7 separate regions of the Homo sapiens genome follow, and all the other regions are linked to region 1. Evidence: promoter capture Hi-C in human tissues and cell types (Jung and others, 2019). All regions are on one chromosome and are shown on one strand. The core of a region is centred on a gene start or on the middle of the fragment in contact, and the rest is flanking DNA. Distances in the headings are between cores, read along the strand shown. Region 1 holds the start of GPR18 (G protein-coupled receptor 18). Region 2 overlaps DOCK9 (dedicator of cytokinesis 9). Region 3 overlaps DOCK9 (dedicator of cytokinesis 9). Region 4 overlaps CLYBL (citramalyl-CoA lyase). Region 5 overlaps DOCK9 (dedicator of cytokinesis 9). Region 6 has its middle 13 kb from the start of LINC01039. Region 7 overlaps TM9SF2 (transmembrane 9 superfamily member 2).

The links. The method cuts DNA at HindIII sites, captures the fragments that hold promoters and counts their contacts. A contact is called where the count stands out against the background at its distance.
Region 2: a contact is called between a fragment that was not itself captured here and the fragment with the promoter of GPR18 in region 1, in 1 of the 25 tissues and cell types used here (dorsolateral prefrontal cortex).
Region 3: a contact is called between a fragment that was not itself captured here and the fragment with the promoter of GPR18 in region 1, in 1 of the 25 tissues and cell types used here (lymphoblastoid cells).
Region 4: a contact is called between a fragment that was not itself captured here and the fragment with the promoter of GPR18 in region 1, in 1 of the 25 tissues and cell types used here (spleen).
Region 5: a fragment that was not itself captured here is called in contact with the fragment with the promoter of GPR18 in region 1 in 1 of the 25 tissues and cell types used here (hippocampus).
Region 6: a fragment that was not itself captured here is called in contact with the fragment with the promoter of GPR18 in region 1 in 2 of the 25 tissues and cell types used here (IMR-90 fibroblasts and spleen).
Region 7: a contact is called between a fragment that was not itself captured here and the fragment with the promoter of GPR18 in region 1, in 3 of the 25 tissues and cell types used here (IMR-90 fibroblasts, lymphoblastoid cells and spleen).

Annotation. Positions count from the first base shown.
Region 1 is chr13:99,256,948-99,259,893 of GRCh38, forward strand. GPR18 (G protein-coupled receptor 18) reads right to left here and starts at 1,432. Exons shown (of 2, transcript NM_001098200.2): 1 at 1,207-1,432. The region is part of intron 4 of UBAC2 (UBA domain containing 2); the gene reads left to right. It overlaps LOC124903198 (a long non-coding RNA gene), which reads right to left. Exons shown (of 3, transcript XR_007063846.1): 3 at 1,492-1,639. The HindIII fragment of the contact is 6,968 bases long and covers 1,419-2,946 here.
Region 2 is chr13:98,819,492-98,822,437 of GRCh38, forward strand. The region is part of intron 45 of DOCK9 (dedicator of cytokinesis 9); the gene reads right to left. Among named protein-coding and RNA genes, the nearest start is that of DOCK9-AS1, 11 kb to the right of the region's middle. RefSeq lists an enhancer at 1,355-1,855. The HindIII fragment of the contact is 3,995 bases long and covers 1-2,946 here.
Region 3 is chr13:98,863,929-98,866,874 of GRCh38, forward strand. The region is part of intron 30 of DOCK9 (dedicator of cytokinesis 9); the gene reads right to left. Among named protein-coding and RNA genes, the nearest start is that of DOCK9-AS1, 33 kb to the left of the region's middle. The HindIII fragment of the contact is 7,603 bases long and covers 1-2,946 here.
Region 4 is chr13:99,617,203-99,620,148 of GRCh38, forward strand. The region is part of intron 1 of CLYBL (citramalyl-CoA lyase); the gene reads left to right. Among named protein-coding and RNA genes, the nearest start is that of CLYBL, 12 kb to the left of the region's middle. The HindIII fragment of the contact is 4,667 bases long and covers 1-2,946 here.
Region 5 is chr13:98,915,989-98,918,934 of GRCh38, forward strand. The region is part of intron 7 of DOCK9 (dedicator of cytokinesis 9); the gene reads right to left. Among named protein-coding and RNA genes, the nearest start is that of DOCK9, 61 kb to the right of the region's middle. The HindIII fragment of the contact is 4,018 bases long and covers 1-2,946 here.
Region 6 is chr13:99,588,662-99,591,607 of GRCh38, forward strand. No RefSeq gene overlaps it. Among named protein-coding and RNA genes, the nearest start is that of LINC01039, 13 kb to the left of the region's middle. The HindIII fragment of the contact is 4,544 bases long and covers 1-2,946 here.
Region 7 is chr13:99,563,958-99,566,903 of GRCh38, forward strand. TM9SF2 (transmembrane 9 superfamily member 2) reads left to right here. Exons shown (of 17, transcript NM_004800.3): 17 at 1-91. Among named protein-coding and RNA genes, the nearest start is that of LINC01039, 12 kb to the right of the region's middle. RefSeq lists an enhancer at 2,886-2,946. The HindIII fragment of the contact is 8,417 bases long and covers 1-2,946 here.

The DNA of each region.
Region 1 (2,946 bases), core at 182-2,681:
GAATTTCTCTTTAAGGAAAACTATGGGGGAGATTTGCTGTCTGTGGTCAGTGGCATCACGGGCTATTGATAATTAAGAATTAACTTGAGCAATTGCTGTGGTTAAACACAAGAAACGTGCCTGTCTGCCTTCCTTCCTTTCCCTTCCCTTCCCTTCCCTTTCTTCCCTTCTTCTCCTTCTTTCCTTCTCAAATATTTAGGTTAAATATGATTTAGGAGCATAATTCTATATATTTAAAAACATATTAAATTTTCCAAATATTGGTGTGACTAGAATATTAATTTCTATCAAATGAGGAAAGTGCTACAGAGAAAAATTATATCTCTAGTGTCATTCAAAGGAGAGTAATCTTGGAGGCTTAAATCTTATTTTTAACTGGAATGCATTCTTATTAAATAGTAGCAATTATAATATAAATGAAATTTTGTATTTGTTTTTCTTTTTTTAGTATTGCATCAGGACTCCCTTCACCTATCCTCATCCTTCAATTTTGTGACATAAGTCCTGTACTTACAAACCATCTTGAGTCTTTTTTCCCACGTTATGCTCAAGCTGTTTTTATGTAGCTTGTCACCAATACTTATATTCATTTGCTGACGTTTGAAAAAAAATGAGTGATGCATGTGTTTTAAAGGCATTATAGTATTGATTGTGCTCTGCAAACACAGAAATTTTTGGATAAATATTGAAAAGTGATTGACTTTAAAGTCAGCTTTTTAAAAGCTATAGATACCATGATTATCTGTAGCTTTTCTTTTCTTAAAAACCATTAAGTTATTTCATGAAACAATGTAATTGAAAACATGTGATGAACATTCCTAAATATACATATGATTTACCATAAACATTTTCTTTCCTTAAGTTGAAAAAAATTACATTTAGTATTAATGTAAAGCAATATTGAAAATAAATGTAAAATCATATTAATGTGGAAAGATGATTATATAGCCTATTTCAAGGTCTTTCACCAACATAGTTTGTTATGTTTATTTTTTTAATTAAATATATTTTTTTAATAGAGACGGGGTCTCACTATGGTGCTCCTGGGCACAACTGATCCTCCTGCCTTGGCCTCCCAAAGTGTTGGAGTTACAGGCGTGGGCCATTGCGCCCAGCCTGTATTATTAAAATGAAATGATTTTTGAAATGCAGTACATAAAGCATTACTTTTGACAATAATCATGAAGTTAATTAAATGCTGCTTACCTCCTGTCCATCAAAAGTCTGTGTGAGAGATGAGCATTTTTCAGCACTTCCACTTCTGTCGAAGGGATATCTTTGAGTTGCTTCTGTTAAAATAGCTCTTTCTGGAAACAGTGTATTTAAGAAATGTTGTATTTTGTTTTAGACTCTTTTGTTGCTTTAAAAAGTAGTTTCCAGTGTAACGCTTGGCGTCGGAGTTGGTGCTGGGCTGACTTTAATTGCTGCTTTGTCTCTTTCAGGAAGTGCTCTCTGAAATAGGCTTTTTCACCTTATGACTTTACCCTGGATGTGGTTTTTCTCTTTCACAAATGATTTGTTTATGAAGTCACACTTAGCATAAGCTCCCCTTGAAATGATGGCATATATTTAAGATAATTATATACAAAGGATAAAGTTTCTTCAGTTTGTGTACTTTGATGCTTGAAGTCTGCATCATCTATGGAAAGAGAAGATTTGATATTGAGTAAAAGGGGGTTTAAAGTCTAGCTTCTTTGCTTTATAAGCTATGTGACTTTGTCTAGTTACCTACCCACTCTGACTAACCCTTTGTTCCTACTTCATTTCTGTACAGTTGAAATAGAGATAATACTATATCCAGTAGGATTGTAGGGGCCCTAAACCAGAAAGATCCCAAGTGCTTAATAGTACCTGGCACTTAGTAGGTACTCCTAAATGGAGTCTCACTTTTTACTACCAAGTTATTAAAAATCATAGAATATCCACATTTCCACTTTTTACTATTTAAACATTTCTAAATGCTTAAAAGTAGGATCCTTGATTAATTGCTTCTGCTTTGCCACATACATTTATCCACTTTAGTTTGCTGTATTTTGTAAGTCTGCTTTTCTAGTGCGTGGAAGTCTAGAAATAATTTCTTTTGCATAAAAATTTCTGCAAATCTTAGCAGAAAGGACTCTGAAGTCTTTAGTGGACTGATTTACATATTAAGAGTGTTTTCACCTAAGAAGGGAAATGAAACCAGCAGAAAGGGAAGTGAGCAACGAATCGCTGCCTGCCTTGTTAGGTTAATTTTGTTTTACTTTCTCATTTCTTAAAAAAAATTATCTCTCATTTGCTTATCCTAAAATTTTAATTATCTTTATGTTTGGTTATGCATGGTTTGTCAACTTTTTAAAGGGTTCATGAACTTAAATGTATTTGTTTTTTTGAATTTTAGACAGTTTGGGGTCCATCCTTTTTTTTTTTTTTCTCAGACAAAACCATAGTAAATCTGTGGCTTAGAAAAGTTACTTAAATCCTTGCCTTTGGTGATAAAATACTTTTGATTGTTACAACCTGCCAGAATGATGGGTTTTAGAAGTGTTGGAGACAACCATAGCAACTATTTCTTGTGTGGATGAAGAAATTGAAGGCCAGTTACTTGCTTAAGAACTCAAGGTAAAGCCAGGTCCAGTTTCTCCCGCTGTAATAACTTCTTATGAGGTAATTATATTGATCTGTCCACTAGATAGGACTTCTTATGGCTGAATCACATTCATCAGTTTTTTATATGTGATGTTATATTTCATTCATCACACAGGAGTTTGATGTTTCAGCTGGACAGAAATCTGCCTGCATGCAGACCTAATCTGTCCTTTGCCTTATTCACATAGCTTAGGACTTTTCTAAAATTAAGTATTGATTAGCTTCCCCATTGCTGCTAAAATCAACAGATACATTGATGGCATGTGTCTAGAAGAGTCCTTTCATCAAGACTTGAATTCTTCACGGTGCACAGGGGCA
Region 2 (2,946 bases), core at 249-2,748, 440 kb before region 1:
ACAGCTTACTCACTCTCAGACCTCTGGCCCCCAGCTCAGTGCCAAGGAAGCCCAGTCCACATTTGCAAAATGAAGTAGGGCAGTATGTGCTGGCATCCGGCAAAGGCAGAACAGCCACCCAAACTCCACTGGCCAAGTTCCCTACTCACTGCCACTACTGTTGTGGAGAATCGCTGTAACACTGAGGATGTGCCATGTGACTTTCACGGCTCCAGGACCACTGTCAGTCAAGGGTAAAGTGGACATGAGCTAGCTCTAAAGGTTTAACCACCACGCTTGGATGAGACGTAAACAGTAATCCCTGAATATGTTCTGTTGATGTCTCTATCTCCTGGGATAGTCTATGGATATAAACACTTAATGCTTCTTACTGGCAACTATTCCTGAATAGAAACAATTTTGACGAATAGAAGCCAGAGACTGGCCTAGTTAAGTTCATATAATGTTTATTACATTCAGCAGCAATTCTGCAATGGCAAGACCTGCTGTTCTGTAAAACAACAGTTTTGTGTGCTAGATACAGTCAGTTCTCGTCATCTGAGGTAGTTATGTTCTATAAAGTCACTGTGAATTAGTGAATACTTGTCCGCTTCCTAGGGAAAATGCAAGGTTCAGTTCCTGGGAGCCTCTGGTTACAACATTTTCATTAACCAATCAATACCTACACTTGTTTTATGTGTTTTGTTTAAAGACATCTAACTAAATATATATTGTTGATTCATTAACATTAAATATATAGCCAACAGCACTAGAACTCACACTTGAACAAAGCTTATGTAACTTACACATGGCAGTGTTCTTGCACTTAGGAACCCCAGAAAGCCATTCTAAACAGCAAACCGCCAACAAAATCCACACAAATGTGAAAAACATGGCATAAAGTAGACCACCAAAAGGGGGCCTGTTCATGGTGTTACAGGAAAGGGGTCCCAATCCAGATCCCAAGAGAGGGTTCTTGGACCTAGTGTAAGAAAGAATTCAGGGCAAGTCCACAGTGCAAAGTAAAAGCAAGTTTATTAAGAAAGTAAAAAGTGGTCAAAGTACAGCTACTCCATAGACAGAGGAGGCTGTTCCTGAAAGTAAGAGGAGGAACACATCCATCCCAGGTACATTACTCGTATATATGGGGAGATGTGCTCTGCTATGAGGATCTGTGATAAAGGATTAATTTTCTTAATTACTGTATTTTGCAAAAATCGATATTATTAGCTTTAAAGAAAAATCAGGAACGCCTTTCTTCTCCAGATATTGAGATATCTAGACACTCTCAAGTCTGGGTCTGTCTAGTAAACATTATTAATTTGATCCCTTAACCATAAACATCTAGAGGCTCAGAATGCCTGACCTTCTGGGAAGGCAGCCCAGCAAGTCCCAGCCTCATTTTCCTAGCCCTCACTCAAGATGGAGTCAGTCTGGTTTGAACACCTCTGACAATGGGATGAGAGCTGCAACAAGAAGCAGAGTGTTGCCTGGTTCGGCCTCAGCTGGAAACATAGTTGAGTGGTAAAATCTTTTGATGCTCTGTACATATCCCTGAATGACCACAAAAGTACCAAGGAGTATTGATTTGGAGGCTACAAAGAAATTTCAGCAGATAGGTGGATAATGAGGATCACCTGTACTTTCTACTTTTCCCTCTGGAGCTCCTCTGGGCCCTGTTCTCCTGGGCTCTGCTCTGAGAAGCAGACACTGCAGGACTCGTGCATGGTGACTTCCTGTCTGGTTGCTGTTGAGTTTGGCCAAGGATAGGCCCCAGTAGGAGGCTGGGGGGCAGGAGGAGAGTGAGGTGGGCAGTTACTCCTTTCCTCCCTGCGTGGGTGCCCTCAGGAGTCCTTTACTAAAAAGCTCACAGGTCCTGCCAGGTGGTCCTTCTATGTAATTTCTCCCTTTCTCCCTAAGGTTAAGGGGTGACGCCCAGCTGCTGCTAACCTCGGGGCACTGCAACATCCCTTGTTGGCTTCCCTAAACCCTCTCTGAACTTTTAAAAACAGTTCCTTTCTTAGACTTTCTTCAATCTCCCAACTATGCTACCTGCATCCTTCCAGGACCTTGGTACTGCATTCGTTAACAAGGGAGGGATCTCAGAACTACATGGGCCATGGGGAATTTTGACACCACAGGAAACTCTGAATTCTTCAATCTACACAGGCTCAGTCTTGCAAAACAAAATTGTGAATAGGAATTGGAGGTTTCTCTTTATTAATCAAAAGCAGCTGGAAAGGAGTCTGCTCTTCGGCTCAGAATCAAGGAAGGTGGAATTGGTGCCAATAAAAACTCATCTGAGACCTGCTGCTAAGAGAATTGAGTATTTTTAGGTAGCGTCCCTTAAAGTCACTTTAGAGAACATCTCAGGCATTTAATTATATCTAATAATGTAGATGAAAAGGGCAATGATTTTTATTCAACTGTGTTATACACTTATCTCCCACCAGATTTTCCCCAAAGTCCTTCCTCTCTGGCAGAGATTTTCATCTCTCTTTTTCTTGCAACATCCTGGCAGCCAATGCAAAAACGTGCCTGGTAATTTCTGCTTTCCTGTCTTTTAGAACATGTTAGTCTTTCTGCTTCCCGTTAGTTTCAATCTGGATGTGCAAGGCTTGCTCAGGACTTTATAACCCTGCTGTGTCACATCCTAATCACCACAGATTGTCATGTACTATGGACCTTGTTAAAGATTTACTAAGTTTATGCTTCAAGGACAAGGTGACGAATCCGTCTTCTGAAAATAGCTGATAAAGGGGTCCTTGTCACAGGCTTAGTTATTACTTAGAGGGGACTCCATTCACAATTTCCCCAAGGCTGTCTGCACTTGATTTCACAGGCTAATTCATTAGGCTCTAACATAATAACTATCTCAGCCTGTTACTCAATCAGATGAGCAAATGCAAGCTTCATTTTATCAGCTCTGCAGGATAGGTCACTAAAAATAGTCTACTTTCCAATCTT
Region 3 (2,946 bases), core at 141-2,640, 390 kb before region 1:
CAGAACTGTATAAGAGCAGTTTGTGCATAACAAACATGTAATTAAATAATAAACATACATGGCTCATTAAAATGTTATTACATGAGTTCATATATTCCTTTCCTGGTCATTAATGTCTATATACTCCATTAAAACCCAGTGGATTTAAGATAAACAAATTAATATATAACCTACTTATTCTGCTATCCCTGAATGAAGAACTTATTTAATGCAGTATTTCCTAAGCTATTCTCCTAATATTTCTCCACCTCTGAAAACAAATACAAATTTAATATAAACTAAAATTGAAGTGGACAAAGCATCAAACCAAACTGGTAAATCACCAGCAAGCTAAATGACAAAACTGAGAGCTCTTCTGGAAAACAGATAGGAGCAAACATGAACTCTACTTAGGAAGGGTACATAAAAACAGCTAAACATCACTCTGAAGATAAAATACAATTTCAGGAAGCTGAAGCTAGGTTGTGAATTGTCAGACTGACTCCATTATTAAAGGAAAGTCTATAGACCTCTCCCTTTGCCTTTTGTCCCCTATCAGACAGTTACTCCTAAATCTAGCCAAAATATGGGCCCAAGTTCTATGAAACCCTTTAATAGAAGGGGGAGAGTATTCATTTTCTAGATTATGTTCATTGTTTATGATTATTTCACCTAGTTTATCAAAACTATAAGTCATAGCTTGAGTTCACATGTCTCTTGGAAGAAACTACTTATGGTTTAACTGGGAGTGTGCTCACACATCTATGGTTGTGTGTATGAATGTGCATGAGAAATTACATGGTCTGGATGTGTGTCCCCTCTGAATCTCATGTTGAAATGTGATCCCCAGTGTTGGAGGTGGGGCCTGGTGGGAGGTGTTTGGGTCATGGGGGCGAATCCCTCATGAATGGCTTGGTGCCCTCCTTGCCATAATGAGTGAGTTCTCGCTTTGAGTTCATGCGAGATCTGGTTGTTTACGAGAGTGTGGCGCCTCACTCCTCGTCTCTTGCTCCCTCTCTCGCCATGTGACATGCTGGCTCCCCCCTTGCCCTCCACCATGATTGGAAGCTTCCTGAGGCCTCACCAGAAGCCAATGTTGGCGCCATGCTTCTTGTACAAACTGCAAAACTGTGAGCCAAAATAAATGTCTTTTCTTATTTTTTTTGAGAGAGGGTCTTGCTCTGTTGCTCAGGCTGGAGTGCCGTGGCATAATCTGCCTAGATTGCAGATTTCACTGCAATCTCTGCCTCCTGGGCTTAAGTCATCCTCCCACCTCAGCCTCCCATGTAGCTGAGGCTACAGATGTGTACCAACACATCAGGCTAATTTTTGTTTCTGTTTTTTTGTAGAGACAGGGTTTTGTTATGCTTCCCAGGATGATCTCGAACTCCTAGGCTCAAGTGATCCTCCCAGTTCAGCCTCCCAAAGTGCTGGGATTGTAAGTGCGAGCCACTGCACTGGCCCTCTTTTCTTTATAAATTACCCAGTCTCATGTATTCCTTTATAGCACACGAATAGACTAACACAAGAAAGGAGGTGAAGGCAGGGGTGGGAGGTAAGTGAGAAGAAAGAAAATGAAAATTCTAAAAAACATTTATTCCTGTCAGTGTAGTAAGGCAAATTACTCCCATATATCCCCCCATCGACTGAGCGAAGCCCGTCTTGCTACCAAATACCCTAGAAGTCTATAAGAGCTTGTGCTGCCCTGCTGGGTCATGGGGAGATGGGCATCAGCACACATTCACTACACAGCCACTGGGCAAAAAGAGCTCCCTGGGCTCTGTACCAGGTGGAAGGAAGGAGAGTCCCCAGGTACAGGAGACTGGGCTGAGGGAGGCTGTGGTGAGGTTGGGGGCACAGGGCAGGAAAGAGTGGTTAATTCCAGTTGAGGAAGTGGAAGAGAGTGAGGAGACCCTGGGAGGCCCCATGCAGGAGGTGTGGAGTGGCTGGCTTGGGGAGGAAGATGAGGATTCCCCAGGGAGGGGGCTATTTGAGGTGGAGGGGTGGCATGATATGTTTGAGGAGCTGGGAGTTGGCAGGGATGCCTGGAATGTGCAGAATAGGGGGGTGTGAGACCACAGAGGTGGGGGGCCAGGGTTAGATCAGGGGACACTGAATACCTATCTGTTCTCTCAGCCCAGAAAAAGTCTCCCCCAGATATGCGGGTGCTTGGCTCACCCCTCACTTTCTTCCAACTGTTATCTGGCCACCCTGTCTCAAATGTCACCCCTTTTCATATCCCCTTTCCTTGCTTTGTTTGTTCTCCTTAGGATGCATCAGTGTCTGACATTCTATGTATCTTGTGTATGTAGAATAGCCGGGGATTGTCATCCAGGTGTATGTAGAATAGCCGGGGATTGTCATCCAGGTTGTACACAACTTATTCTGAAGCTCGACACAGTTGGTGCGGGGTAAATATTTGTTGAATGCATGAATGCCAACTCCAGGGCCACAGTCCCCCTGCCTGATCCTTAAAAGGCAGTACCAGTCTGTTTGGGGGAAACAGACTGAATGAATGCCTTAGTGTGTTTCTCTCGGAATTCAGAAGCAGTTGATTCAGGTGCCATTAGCAGTTTGGTGGCATCCTTCCACTTTTTCTCTCCCTTAGCACAAAATACCTGAGTACATACAAGGAATTAAGCTCAAGAGCTATTGCTTGACAGACCTGACAGACTAATTTGTTCAATTTGATTTACTCAGTGAAGACAAAGACATCCCTATGAGCTCAACTCTCTTCAAACGTAAAAAGAATACAGGACATTAATAAAGACTCAACATACAAACATTAAAAGCATGTAAAAAAGCCACATTGCTTGTGATTTTGATTACTGCCACCACTATGGACAAGGGCTATGAAAATAGTAGAATAATGAATTTTGGGGGTGAAGCAGGGATGTTTGTTTTACTTCTTAAAGAAACATCCTAGAGTACCCAGTGACTTCAGGAGCAAAAAACCGGATGCCTCCC
Region 4 (2,946 bases), core at 269-2,768, 360 kb after region 1:
GTTGCTAGCCCCAGTAAAATGAGGGTCTTAGTTTAGCGGAAGACTGTGTTTACTGTTTAACTCACAGTTCACGCTAAAAATTGGCACTTTTTTTTTTCCTAATAAGGGCCTCTCTATGGACCTTTTTAAAGTTTATATGGTCATTAAAAACATCATTGCACACATATACTTTGTACCACTTTGGAAGTAGTGCAGGCTTGTTTGAAAGCATACACTTGACTTGTCTTCTTACTTAGTCTCACAGTATTCTTTGTGAGAAGGTTGATATGCCCACATTATTCTGTGGCCAAAAACAAAAGTTTAGGAAATGAAAACAGCAAACAGAAAACCCCATGCCAAGTGCTGTTTTCGTAGTGAGGCACTGGAGGGCGCTCCGCTCTAGCAATGGGAGATGCACGCAGTCTCTGCAGTCTGCAGGCTGCCCTCACGAACGCCTTTCAGAAGATGTAAGAGTTTTTTCTGTTCATTTTAAGGCAAATGAAAGACACATGGATGGTAGAGGAAATATTTCTATACTGACCTATAAACGGTCCCTTTAAAAGTTTATGAGAAACTGAAGAAGTAGCTCTGTGCTCCAGCCCTCCTTATGACCTCCTCTCTCCCTAGCCTGTTGCAGCCTCACCGGCCTCCTCTTCTGGGCTGTGTCGTCAGCCTGAAGCCCTCTGTCCCTTTGTGCCTCAGCTCAAATGTCACAAATCAGAGAGGTCTTCCTTGACCACCCTGTACAACATAGCCTCCACCCCGCTAAGCAGCCTCTGCACTACCCTGTCCCCTTACTGCTGTTTTCATTTTTTCCTATTGCCCCATTTCCACCAGACATATCACATGCTTATTTGTTTATTGTCCGCCTGTATCCTACCCCAGCCCCCAGATATTCATGAGAGCAGGGACTTGGTTTATTCCATTGCTACTATATATCCAGAACCTAAAACAATCCTTGGCAGTGCCTGATATAAATTTGCAGAAGGAAAAAAGAACAGATTTAGGAATGAAATATTTTGAGTGTTTCTAAAGATTTAGTGGATTTTTTTTCTTTATTTTGGTAAATTATACATAACAAAATTATCATTTTAACTTTTTTTTTTTTGAGGTGGAGTCTAGCTCTGCCCCCAGGCTGGAGTGCAGTGGTGCGATCTCACTCACTGCAACCTCTGCCTCCTGGGTTCAAGCAACTCTCCTGCCTCTGCCTCCGAGTAGCTGGGATTACAGGTGCCCGCCACCACGCCTGGCTAATTTTTTGTATTTTTAGTAGAGACGGGGTTTCACCATGTTGGCCAGGCTGGTCTCGAACTCCTGACCTCAGGTGATCTACCCGCCTCGGCCTCCCAAAGTGCTGGGATTACAGGCGTGAGCCACCATGGCCGGCCCATTTTAACCATCTTTAAGTGTACAGTTTAGTGGCATTAAGTACATTCACATTGTTGTACAACTGTCACCACCATCCATCTTCAGAACTTTTTTATCTTCCCACACTGAAACCCTGTGCCCATTAAACACTAACTCCCTGTTCCCTTCCCCCCACCCAGCCCCTGGTAACCACCATTCTCATTATTTTCACTGTGAATTTGACTACTCTAGGTACTTCACATACATAGACTCACATATTTGTCCTTTTGTGTTTGGCTTATTTCACTCAGCATAATATCTTCCAAGGTGCATCCATGTTACAGCAGGTATCTGATTTTCATTCATTTTTAAGGCTGAATAATCTATTGTGTGCCTATTCCATATTTTATTTATCCATCCATCTGTTGATGGACATTTGAGTATCACTGCCACCTTTTGGCTATTGTTAGTGCATGTTCTATGTGGAGCACAGAAATGTGATGTTTAAGTTTAAGCCTAAAGTGGATTTCTTTGAATTATACTAGCCAGTCACAGATCACTCCTGGGTAGTACTATGGTTTGAATGTGGTATCCCCTCCAAAATTCATGTTGAAACTTAATTCCCATTGTGGTGGTATTAAGAAGTGGGGCCTTGTAGGAAGTGGTTAAGTCATGAGGGCTGTGCCTCATGAATGGGTTAGTATCATTGGAAAGAGGCTTCAGAGAGAGTTTTCCAGTCTTGCCCTTCCACCCTGCGCCATGTGAGGACACAGCAATAAGGCGCCATATTGGAAGCAGAGAGCAGCCCTCTGTAGACACCAAGGCTGGCACCTTGATCTTAGATTCCCCAGCCTCCAGAACTGTGGGAAGTAAGTTTCTGTTGTTTATAAATTAGCCCAGTGTGTAATACTTTTTAAAATAGCAGCATAAACAGACTAAGACAGGTGGTTTCTACTTTTAGGAAAATATTTTTAGTTCATATTAAGATAGAAACTTATTCTAGCTCCTAAAAATCAGAATTGTTTTAATATCCTCAGGTGCTCTTTAATTTTTTCTTACAATTGTCAAAAACAAGTTTAAAATCAAGTTACTAACTCTGCTATAGGCAGGAAGCTCCTGGATAGATACTCTGGGGTTCAAGTCCAATGCTGACCCGCAGTTGGCCCTTGACCTTGTTCAAGGCCCTTATCTAGATTGTGCCTTATTTTTCTCACCCATCAAAAGGAGGATGGACAAGTTTCTTCCTGCCAGTTGACATTCCAGAGTCTAGAAAGGAATTATTGCCCTCAAGTAAGACGACCTTGGGGAATTCAGAAATAAAAAGTATATAGCTTTTTGAGCTCTAAGTTATTTTGGTCCATTTGAGCTCAATTTGACCAGAGATTGAAGATAAAAGCTCTGCCTCCCCCAAACTTATTGGTACAGCCTGCACTCAATTGGTTTTACCGCCTTCTCCTGACATTAAGGGAGATGTTTTTGGTTGTGTGGTGTTGACCCTTTAGGTCCTCAGAAGGGGCGGCACCCTCATGGTGTCTCTGCCTGCAGCAGGGAGTGCTACCAGGCACTTTGTTCCAGTGACTTATGATGGACACAGCACAGCGCCTAGGGGTTAGGATTCTA
Region 5 (2,946 bases), core at 177-2,676, 340 kb before region 1:
TGGCTTACTTATCTGGAACTTTCCCATCCTTTATGAATCCCAAAAGGTATTTGGACTCCCTGTCCGTGGCCTTGCCTCATGCCTCCAGTTTTCATGCCTGCAAGAGGGTGACTGGCTCACAGAACAAGAACAGTAGTCCATGTGCAGTAACAGACGGAAGATGAACATGCACTAGGCCAGGATTTCTCAATCTCGGTACTACTGACACTTGGGCAGCCAATTCTTTGTTGTGAGTGGCTGGTCCATGCATTGTACAATGTTTAGCGAAATTTATGGCCTTAAGCCAATAGATGCCAGTCTTCAGACATTCCAAGATGTCCTCCAGGGAGCAAAATCTCCCCAGGTTGGCCGCAGTAGACAGAGGTTCAGCTCTGAGGATCATGGCACAAGATCCCCTGTAAGGACAGGCTGAGCGATATGAAATCAAACACTCCCACTAACCTGAGCCAGCAGGACAGCCCCCCGCATAGCCACTAAAATCCTACTGGGTTATCCACACTCTCTCTAAGAGTTCCTTGGTGGAGGTCTCAGGGACAGGGCAACCCTCCCAAAAGTCTCTGTGATTCTGCAGCACAGTTCTTAGAAATGCAAAGTCAAGTGCTCCCCTTGGCAAAGCCACACACTCTTGTGCACAGACTGTCTGCTGTGGGCTCAGTAATTGCCACTTTGGATTCCACTTAAACTTCAAGGCAAGAACCAGGGAAGAAGTCAAAGGCTTGAAACAAAATGAATTTTCTCTCCTCCTTTCCCTGCATACTCACAATCATGAAAAGAGAAAGTTAAAAGTGGAGAAAAAAACATTAGGCCTCAATTCTAAATTTCTGTTTCTGAGCCTCAGTTTTCTCATCTGCAAAATAAGTATAATAAATTTCAAGGGTTCTAAAATGCTTCAAAATTTTTTAGTTTAGGCACTTTTTTTAATTCACAGCACCAGTCAACTAATTTTTTTATAATATCCATAAGTAATAATTTTTAAAAACACTTAAATCACAACTTTTGATGCTTAGTTTACAAACAGACACAGATAAAAACAAATTATTTTACTCTTTTGAAGCCTTGGATACACTTTATTAAATGAAAACACCATCAGCTGCATCTGCAAAGACAATTTGAAGGAAGAGACTTCCATTGAAGTCAGAACCTTAGATTTTGAAATGCACCCCGGAGACTAATTGATAGCTCAGGGCAGTTGTACTTATAAACATCTGTCCCTGGGCCAGAAACAGGCAGCAAAACTCTCTTATAAAACAAAAATAATTACTTCCTACTTTAAAAAATGAGGTTGCCAAATACATTTAGTTTTGCTTTAACCTTCTTTTTAAAGTCAGTGCCAGAAAATTCAGCTAAAAAGTAACTTAAAGGTCTTTTGACTAAAGAATACAAATAAAACTCCTACTTGGGAATCCCACCCAAGAAGTCAATTCACTGTCACTGATAAATCACTCTGGCACTCCTTACTTCACAGACATTGTCAATGAACATACTCTGATATAATTAGATTGTTCATAGTGGTGGCCTTCAGAGAAGGCTGAATTGCCAGCTAAGAGACATCCACATTAGCTGTTGACTGAAAACAATTTTCAGTGAGCATTAAGTGGTGCTACAGTCTTGAACGTGGGCCCAAATATACTTTCATGTATTTTACCTTTTTTTTTCTTTTTTTTTTTTTCGGCAGGGCGGGGGTACTGCACAGTGGTATTTTGTTTGTTTGCTTTTTGTATCCTCTCAAATTACCTGTTGGTGTTTTTTATTTATTTTTCAAAGTGGTTTTTAAAGTTAGTTACCAATAACTAAAGTTACCAAAGTTTAACTCAAATTCTGTATTTCTTGCTTTTTGAGAAACCAGATGATCTGGCACCTTTGAGCCGGGGGTTCCACCTGGCGGCACCAGCTGCAGGTGGGCAGGAGATGCCCCCTTTAAATGGGGCACTGGGCTCCAGGTCACCCCGGCATTCCCTATTGCTTTGCAACCAGGCCTCTCTGTCACTTAATTGACCTCCTTGGTCCCTGCAGACATCTGATTCTGGACCCCTCCCTTCCACTGCTGACCATAAGGAAGAAACAGGATCTGGACTTAGCCTCCCACCATCATTGCTAGAAAAGTGGACAAAATACATGAAATAACTGTTTTCAGATAGGGGACAAAAGGCAGTGCAGCCCTTTCTCTGTAGAAGGGAAAGACTGAAGTGAGCCCCAAATTGCCTCAGCTTTCTGCCTGGAGGCAGTATCTGAATTGCAGCACAGGAAGGGGAATCCAAAAAGAGCCCTGCCATCTTGCTGAGTAGAAGACACTGACGAGACCTGGGGAAGACCAAGGTGGCCAGAATATGCAGGGCAGAGTCTCCAGAATGACGGGAAATAAAACAGCACAAAGATAAGAAAGAGCCGAGCTCCAGAAAGATCCACCGAGTCACACATGCATTAGGCATATATTTTCTATTTATATGTTATACCTTATTTTCTATTTATATGTTATAACTTAACAAAAAAGCTTACCAAAGCATAAAATAAAAATCAAGACACAACAACCAAAATTTTAGAACACTAAAGAGAAGACCACAAAGAACAGGGATTTCGAATAACATCAGAACCTTCCAAACGACAGTGGAAACTAGATGGCAATGGGATGCCCTTGAAATTCCAAGGTAAAATGATTTCACTTTGAATTTTATAACTAGCCAAACTATGAGTCAAGCATGAATGCAAAAATTAAGATATGAACAGATACCCTAATTCTCAAAAAATTAACATCTCACACACAATTCCTCAGAAAGCTGCAGAAGATGTGCTCCCCCAAAACAAGAAAGTAGAACAAGAAAGAGGAAGGCATAAGGTCCCAGAAACAGGAAACCCAACACAGGAAGGAAGACAGGCCGAATGTCTACATGGCAGGTGTGTGGGGCAGGAAAGCAATTCATCCAGACTAGAGGCCAAAGGAGGGTGCCA
Region 6 (2,946 bases), core at 171-2,670, 330 kb after region 1:
CCCAGGCTGGTCTCACACTCCTGAGCTCAAGTGATCCGCCTACCTCGGCCTCCCGTACTATTACTTGAATACCTGCTGAGTCAGGACTCTTGGTTTCAAGAGCCAAAAACCAAATTAAAATGCCCTTAATTAAAAAAATACACACATATTAGTTCAGGCAGCTGGGAAGTTCAATGAATGACACTATTTGATCAAAGAGTTCAAACAATATCAATAAGGGTCTCCCTCTCCTCTCTTTCTCCATTTCTCATCTTTGATTTTCTCTGTGTGAGCTTCATTCTCAGGCAATCTCTCTCCCCAGAGCAGCCTAGAAGATAATACTATCAGGCTTACCGTGATCTTACTACTCTTGATAGCAGAAGAAAAGACCCCTTTCTCACCAAACATTCATATCCATCTCCCCAAAATGGACTCTGATTGGCTGGTTGGGTCATGTGCCCATGCCTGGATCCGTCATGGTGGCACAGAAGTTGGTCATGTAAATTACAGACCCACCAACCAGCAGAGTGGCATTCTCAACAGGAAAGATGCTAAGAAGACCAAATGCCCACCGATGCCTACCTCACTACCCACCTACACAGTCCTCACAATCCTGAGGGCTGATACAGGGGTAGACACTGAGGCTTAGAGAGTTTAAGTTACTCAGAAAAGCCCCTCACCCTGTAAGATGTCAAGCCAGAATCAGCAGCCAGGTCTATTTGAAAACTACAGCCCTTTCCACTACACCACACTACCATTAGATTAAATTGTTGTCACTTCAAACCCGGGATGGCACAAACTAAACTTATTATTTTTCCTAAAATCATCTCCAAAGTTCAAATTCTCCAAAAGTTATCACCATTTCCTTCTTCTCCCAAGTGTGAAAATTTAGCCTTTTCCTTCTTTCTTGCAGCCAACCTTTTGTCTATCTCTTTCCTCTTCCCGTTCTTTCCCAAATCCACAATCTCCACACTTGTTTGTGGGTTCATTACCTGACATCTGGATCATGATCCTATCTGTTCCCTACTTCAGTCTATCCTATACATAGCCACATATTAAACTCCCTACAGTACAAGTGTTAAAAGAACTGGCCAGGTGCAGTGGCTCACTGCTGCAATCCCAGCACTTTGGGTGGCCAAAGCGGGTGGATCACTTGAGGTCAGGAATTCGAGACCAGCCTGGCCAACATGGCGAAACCCTGTCTCTACTAAAAATACCCATATTAGCTAGTTACGGTGGCATGTGCTTGTAATCCCAGCAACTTGGGAGGCAGAGGCTGGAGGATCGCTTGAACCTGGGAGGTGGAGGTTGCAGTGAGCTGAGATGGTGCCACTGCACTCCAGCCTGGGTGACAGAGTGAGACTCCATCTCAGAATAATAATAATAATATATTATTATATTTACTTGAAAGTATGTATTCATTTGTATTACCAAACAATGCAGCAATGTGGAGCATTCCAGAACTCAGGGGCTTAACACAATAGGTATTTACTACTGCTGATGCCTTCGTGAGTCTGCTGTAGTTTCGCTGACCTGGGCTGGGCTGGGCTGCAGGCTCCACAGCAGGCTGGGCAGCTGGGGCAGCTCTGTTTCACTGCAGGGCAACCTCCTCTCCATCACGGGTTCTGCTAGGATGTGCTCTTCTCACAGCGATGGCTGCAGGGCAAGAGGGCAAGGCTGCAGCTGGAGATGGCACACAGTCACTGGCAGAGCTCAAAGTTAAGGGACAAAAAAGGTATATTCTTCCCACAATGAGATCGTGACAAGGATGTGGAGGCAGACAAGAGGCAAGAATTGGAGCGTTCAATCCAATCCACCACAGGGAAAGTCAAGGCTGACCATTGTCTGGCCTCGCCACATCCATCCAACTCAAACCCCTCCCTTGGGGACTTCAGGTTGTCATGGATCTTGGGAATCTTACAGAAGCCGGGCAGGATTGGGCAGTTCCAGACAGTGAGCAATGTTCCAACAGTAGGCCCAGTTTCGCCTGGTCTCTGCTTTCCCACCACACGAGGAAGAGGGAGGGATTTTCTGGGCCCACTTGTTATTGGTAGTTTTTACAAAATAAGCAAATGTTAAACAATTTCTCCTCTAGCAAATAAACTGAGCCAGGGAGTCTCTTTGTGATTTTTTTTTTTTTTGGCTTTTTGGGGAAAAATATCTCTAGGAATTATTTTCTCTATAAACAATGGCAACAGTTTATTTTTGTTGGCTTGACTTGGATCCTCCCCCACTTCCTTTTTTTGGATTGAGAGGTTGGCTACAGAAATGAGAAAGAAATACTTTTTTATTCTTTTTTTGTGTGTGGTTTCTCTGGTTGGAAAATAAAAGCTCTGCATTCTTTCTGTATTCAGTGCACTTCAAAGTCATAAAAATTTGGATAAAGTACATCAGGGTTATGGGTGTTCTAGATTTCAGTCTTTTTATAACTTCCTCCTATTTCACATTCGTTTGACCTCAGGTTAAAGGAACGCTTTTGAAAAGTATAATGATTTGATCCTAGCAATGGATGTAGCAAAAATACTGGGGTCAATAAGTTGAATTAAAAGCCTTTTTATAAAGAAGAAGAAGAAAAAGAAGAAGCAAAAACTATATTTTGCAAACTTTAAGCTTAAGACTGCATGACAGTGGAAGAATTTCCCAGCTGTATTCTTATAAAGAATATATGCTGTGAAAATATTTTTCAAAGTTTACCAGAGCAAAAAAGTTTGAATTAAAGGAAACTAACTTCATAAACCTCTGAACTTATTTTCCCAGCTTACATAGGCACTTTCTGTAGATTGGTTTTTAGTATTTTTCCATATATATTTTGTTTCTTTTCTTTCCCACAAACATCTGAATATTCTCATGTGTATGGGTTTTACAGTATTACCTAAATATATGTTTCAGTGATTTATTGAGGGGAGAAAAGCAAGTTTCAAAACAGTATGTATATGTGATGTTACTTTTGCTAAGAACTATATATGC
Region 7 (2,946 bases), core at 223-2,722, 310 kb after region 1:
GCTTAGGAGAGCAAATCAGATACTGTCATTAAACTTACAACTAAAATTACTAGCTGTCACTTATATGATATTGCTGGGTTCTTACTGAATAATTTTTTTTTTTTTTTGAGACAGAGTTTCCTTCTTGTTGCCCAGGCTGGAGTGCAATGGCGAGATCTCGGCTCACCACAACCTCCGCCTCCCAGGTTCAAGCAATTCTCCTGCCTCAGCCTCCTGAGTAGCTGGGATTACAGGCATGTGCCACCACGCCCGGCTAATTTTGTATTTTTAGTAGAGACGGCATTTCTCCATGTTGGTCACACTGGTTTCAAACTCCTGACCTCAGGTGATCTGCCCGCCTCGGCCTCCCAAAGTGCTGGGATTACAGGTGTGAGCCACTGCGCCCAGCCTTACTGAATAATTTTATGTCACTGTCCTTTTTTAAAAAAACGGACCTGTTGGTTTTGAAGAGTAAAGGAGGAGCTCTGTTCATTTTTAACATGGAATATTTAAGATAGAAGAGTTTCTTTCAGTTTTATGTATCTCTTGTATTTATTTTTTATGGGTAGAGTTGTCCCTTAGTATTTATGGGAGATTGGTTCCAGAACCCTTGTGGTTACCAAAAATCCATGGATGCTCAAGTCCTTGATATAAAAATGGCAAGTATTTGCAAATAATCTATGTACATCCTCCCATGTGCTTTAAATCATCTCTAGTTTACTCACAATACCTCATACAATGTAAGTGCTCTGTAAATACTTGTTATACTCTATTTTCCATTTGTATTTTTATTGTATTGGTTTTTTAAAATTTATTTTCGAGCATTTTTGATCTGTTGTTGCTTAAATCTGCATATGCAGAACCCCCAGATAAGGAAGGCCAACTGTAATTCTCTTAGGGAGCTGTTGAGATAGGCTGGTTGACTCAACAAAGAGAAGGTTTTAGTTTTTAAAAATCCTGATTGAGACACCAGATTAGTTTTTATTGGCCAAAGTTAAGTTTCTTCAATTTTATTTTTCCTTTAGTGAACAGTTAGCTTAGTGATTTAAAAGTCAGCTGATAGAGTTGGTGTAACTTTTTCTTCGTTTTGTTTTGTTTTGTTTGTGAGACAGAGTTTCACTCTTGTTGCCCAGGCTGGAGTGCAATGGCACTATCTCAGTTCACTGCAACCTCCGCCTCGTGGGTTCGAGCGATTCTCCGGCCTCAGCCTCTGGAGCAGCTGGGATTATAGACACCCGCCACTGCGCCCAGCTAATTTTTTGTATTTTTAGTAGATACGGGGTTTCACCATGTTGGCCAGGCTGGTCTCGAACTCCTGACCTCAAGTGATCCACCCCCCCACCCCGCCGCAACCTCGGCCTCCCAAAGTGCTGGGATTACAGGCGTGAGCCACCGCGTCCGGCCTTTTTCTTCATATATTTAAGTAACCGTATTTCACACGTAAACAGTGGAGAGGCAGTTGGGAAAATGAAATTGGAGTGATAAAGGAAAAGACTTAGGAGGGAGGGAGGGTGGAAAGCCGAGGAAGGAGACAGTGACAAGGAAGGCCTGCCAAGTGAGGAGGGCGGTGGAGAAAAGACCCCTCTCCAGGGCTTGGATCCCGCCGTCCTGAGGGGTGCGCTGCTGCGGCTTTCCCAGAAAGTTCTCCAGGAAAGCGTCCCTCAGCATGGCAGGCGGTTAGAAGCAGGGGTCCGTCTCCTTAGCTTGAGTGTGGCCCGGGACAGAAACAGTTGCGTTGCGCATGTTGTGAGACCCCAGTGACCAGGAACCCCGGGGAGAAGTCTCCTCCATGAGTCATGATAGCCGCAGGCAGCTGCGAAGGAGGGGGACGTGTAGCCAAGACCGGGAAGCTAGGTAACTGCAGTGTTTTCCTGCTGGAGAAATGGCCTTTTGCCATTCCCATGCCTTCTATCTGCCCAGGTCATTTCTAGAGACCCAGCCGTGCCGCAGGGTCGTCCTGCTCGCCGGCTAAGGGCGGCATTCTGTCTGCATTTGCCTCCTTGCCCCGCACATCAAGAAGGCCGCCCAAGCTTTCGGGCAGCGCCGTAGCCCCTTGGTGTCTCCCACAGTTTCTCCAACTGTACCTTCACCTCGAACCTAGTTACAGCCTCACCCCGCCTTCTTCCTGTCTGTTCGAGAGTCTTTCCTCTTTATTTTCCCTTCTGTGTTTAAACCCTCCCTCTCCATGCTTTCCATTTTAAAACACGTCCAACTTTCTGCTAGTTGTTGTTTTTTTTTTTTTTTTTCATTTTTAGTGAAAACAACCCGTCTGACCGATTTCTCCCTCTTCTCCTTGCCTCTCCCACCTGGCTTTGCCATCGGCTTCTTGTTTTCCGAGGATTCTGCTGGTAACCTTGTTGCCGAGCTCCTCAGCGCCCCCACCACCTGGTCCAGCCCTAATTTTACCAGCTCTTTACTGACACGACACTCAGTCTCTCTTGGAAACCTTGTCCTGAAAGCCGTGTTCCTCATAGTCTGGGTCTGAACCTTCCTCATAGAATCGCAAGAAGATTGTCACAAACATGTGCTTGCCCTGCACGTGTTCTGGAGAAGTGCGTTAAAACAGGAGACGCTGCTTACCCACTTCTCTTCCCCTCAATTCCGCCTCTGTCAGTCTCCTCTGGGGGCTCCACTTCTGCCCCCAGCGGGAGTTGCTGCCCTATTCCATCTTTCCCTCTTTGACCTACTTCTCACTTGGTGTTCTCTGTCCAGTTTCACTCTCGTGTTTAGAGTCAGCGCCTCCATCTCCACTCACAGCACCTGCTTGCTGCACAGCCTGCGTGGTCCTCGGGAACACTAAGCTCATGGTGTACAAAAGTGAGCGCACCTGCCCTCCGTCCCCAGCTGCCGCTCCCCCAGAGGCCCCGTCTCCGGTGGGGCCGTCAGCTGCTTCATCCCCTGAGCGGAGCTTCACAGGTCCCCTGGGTGCCCCTTTCAGTCGGTCACCGAGTATCCTCCAAGTCTTCA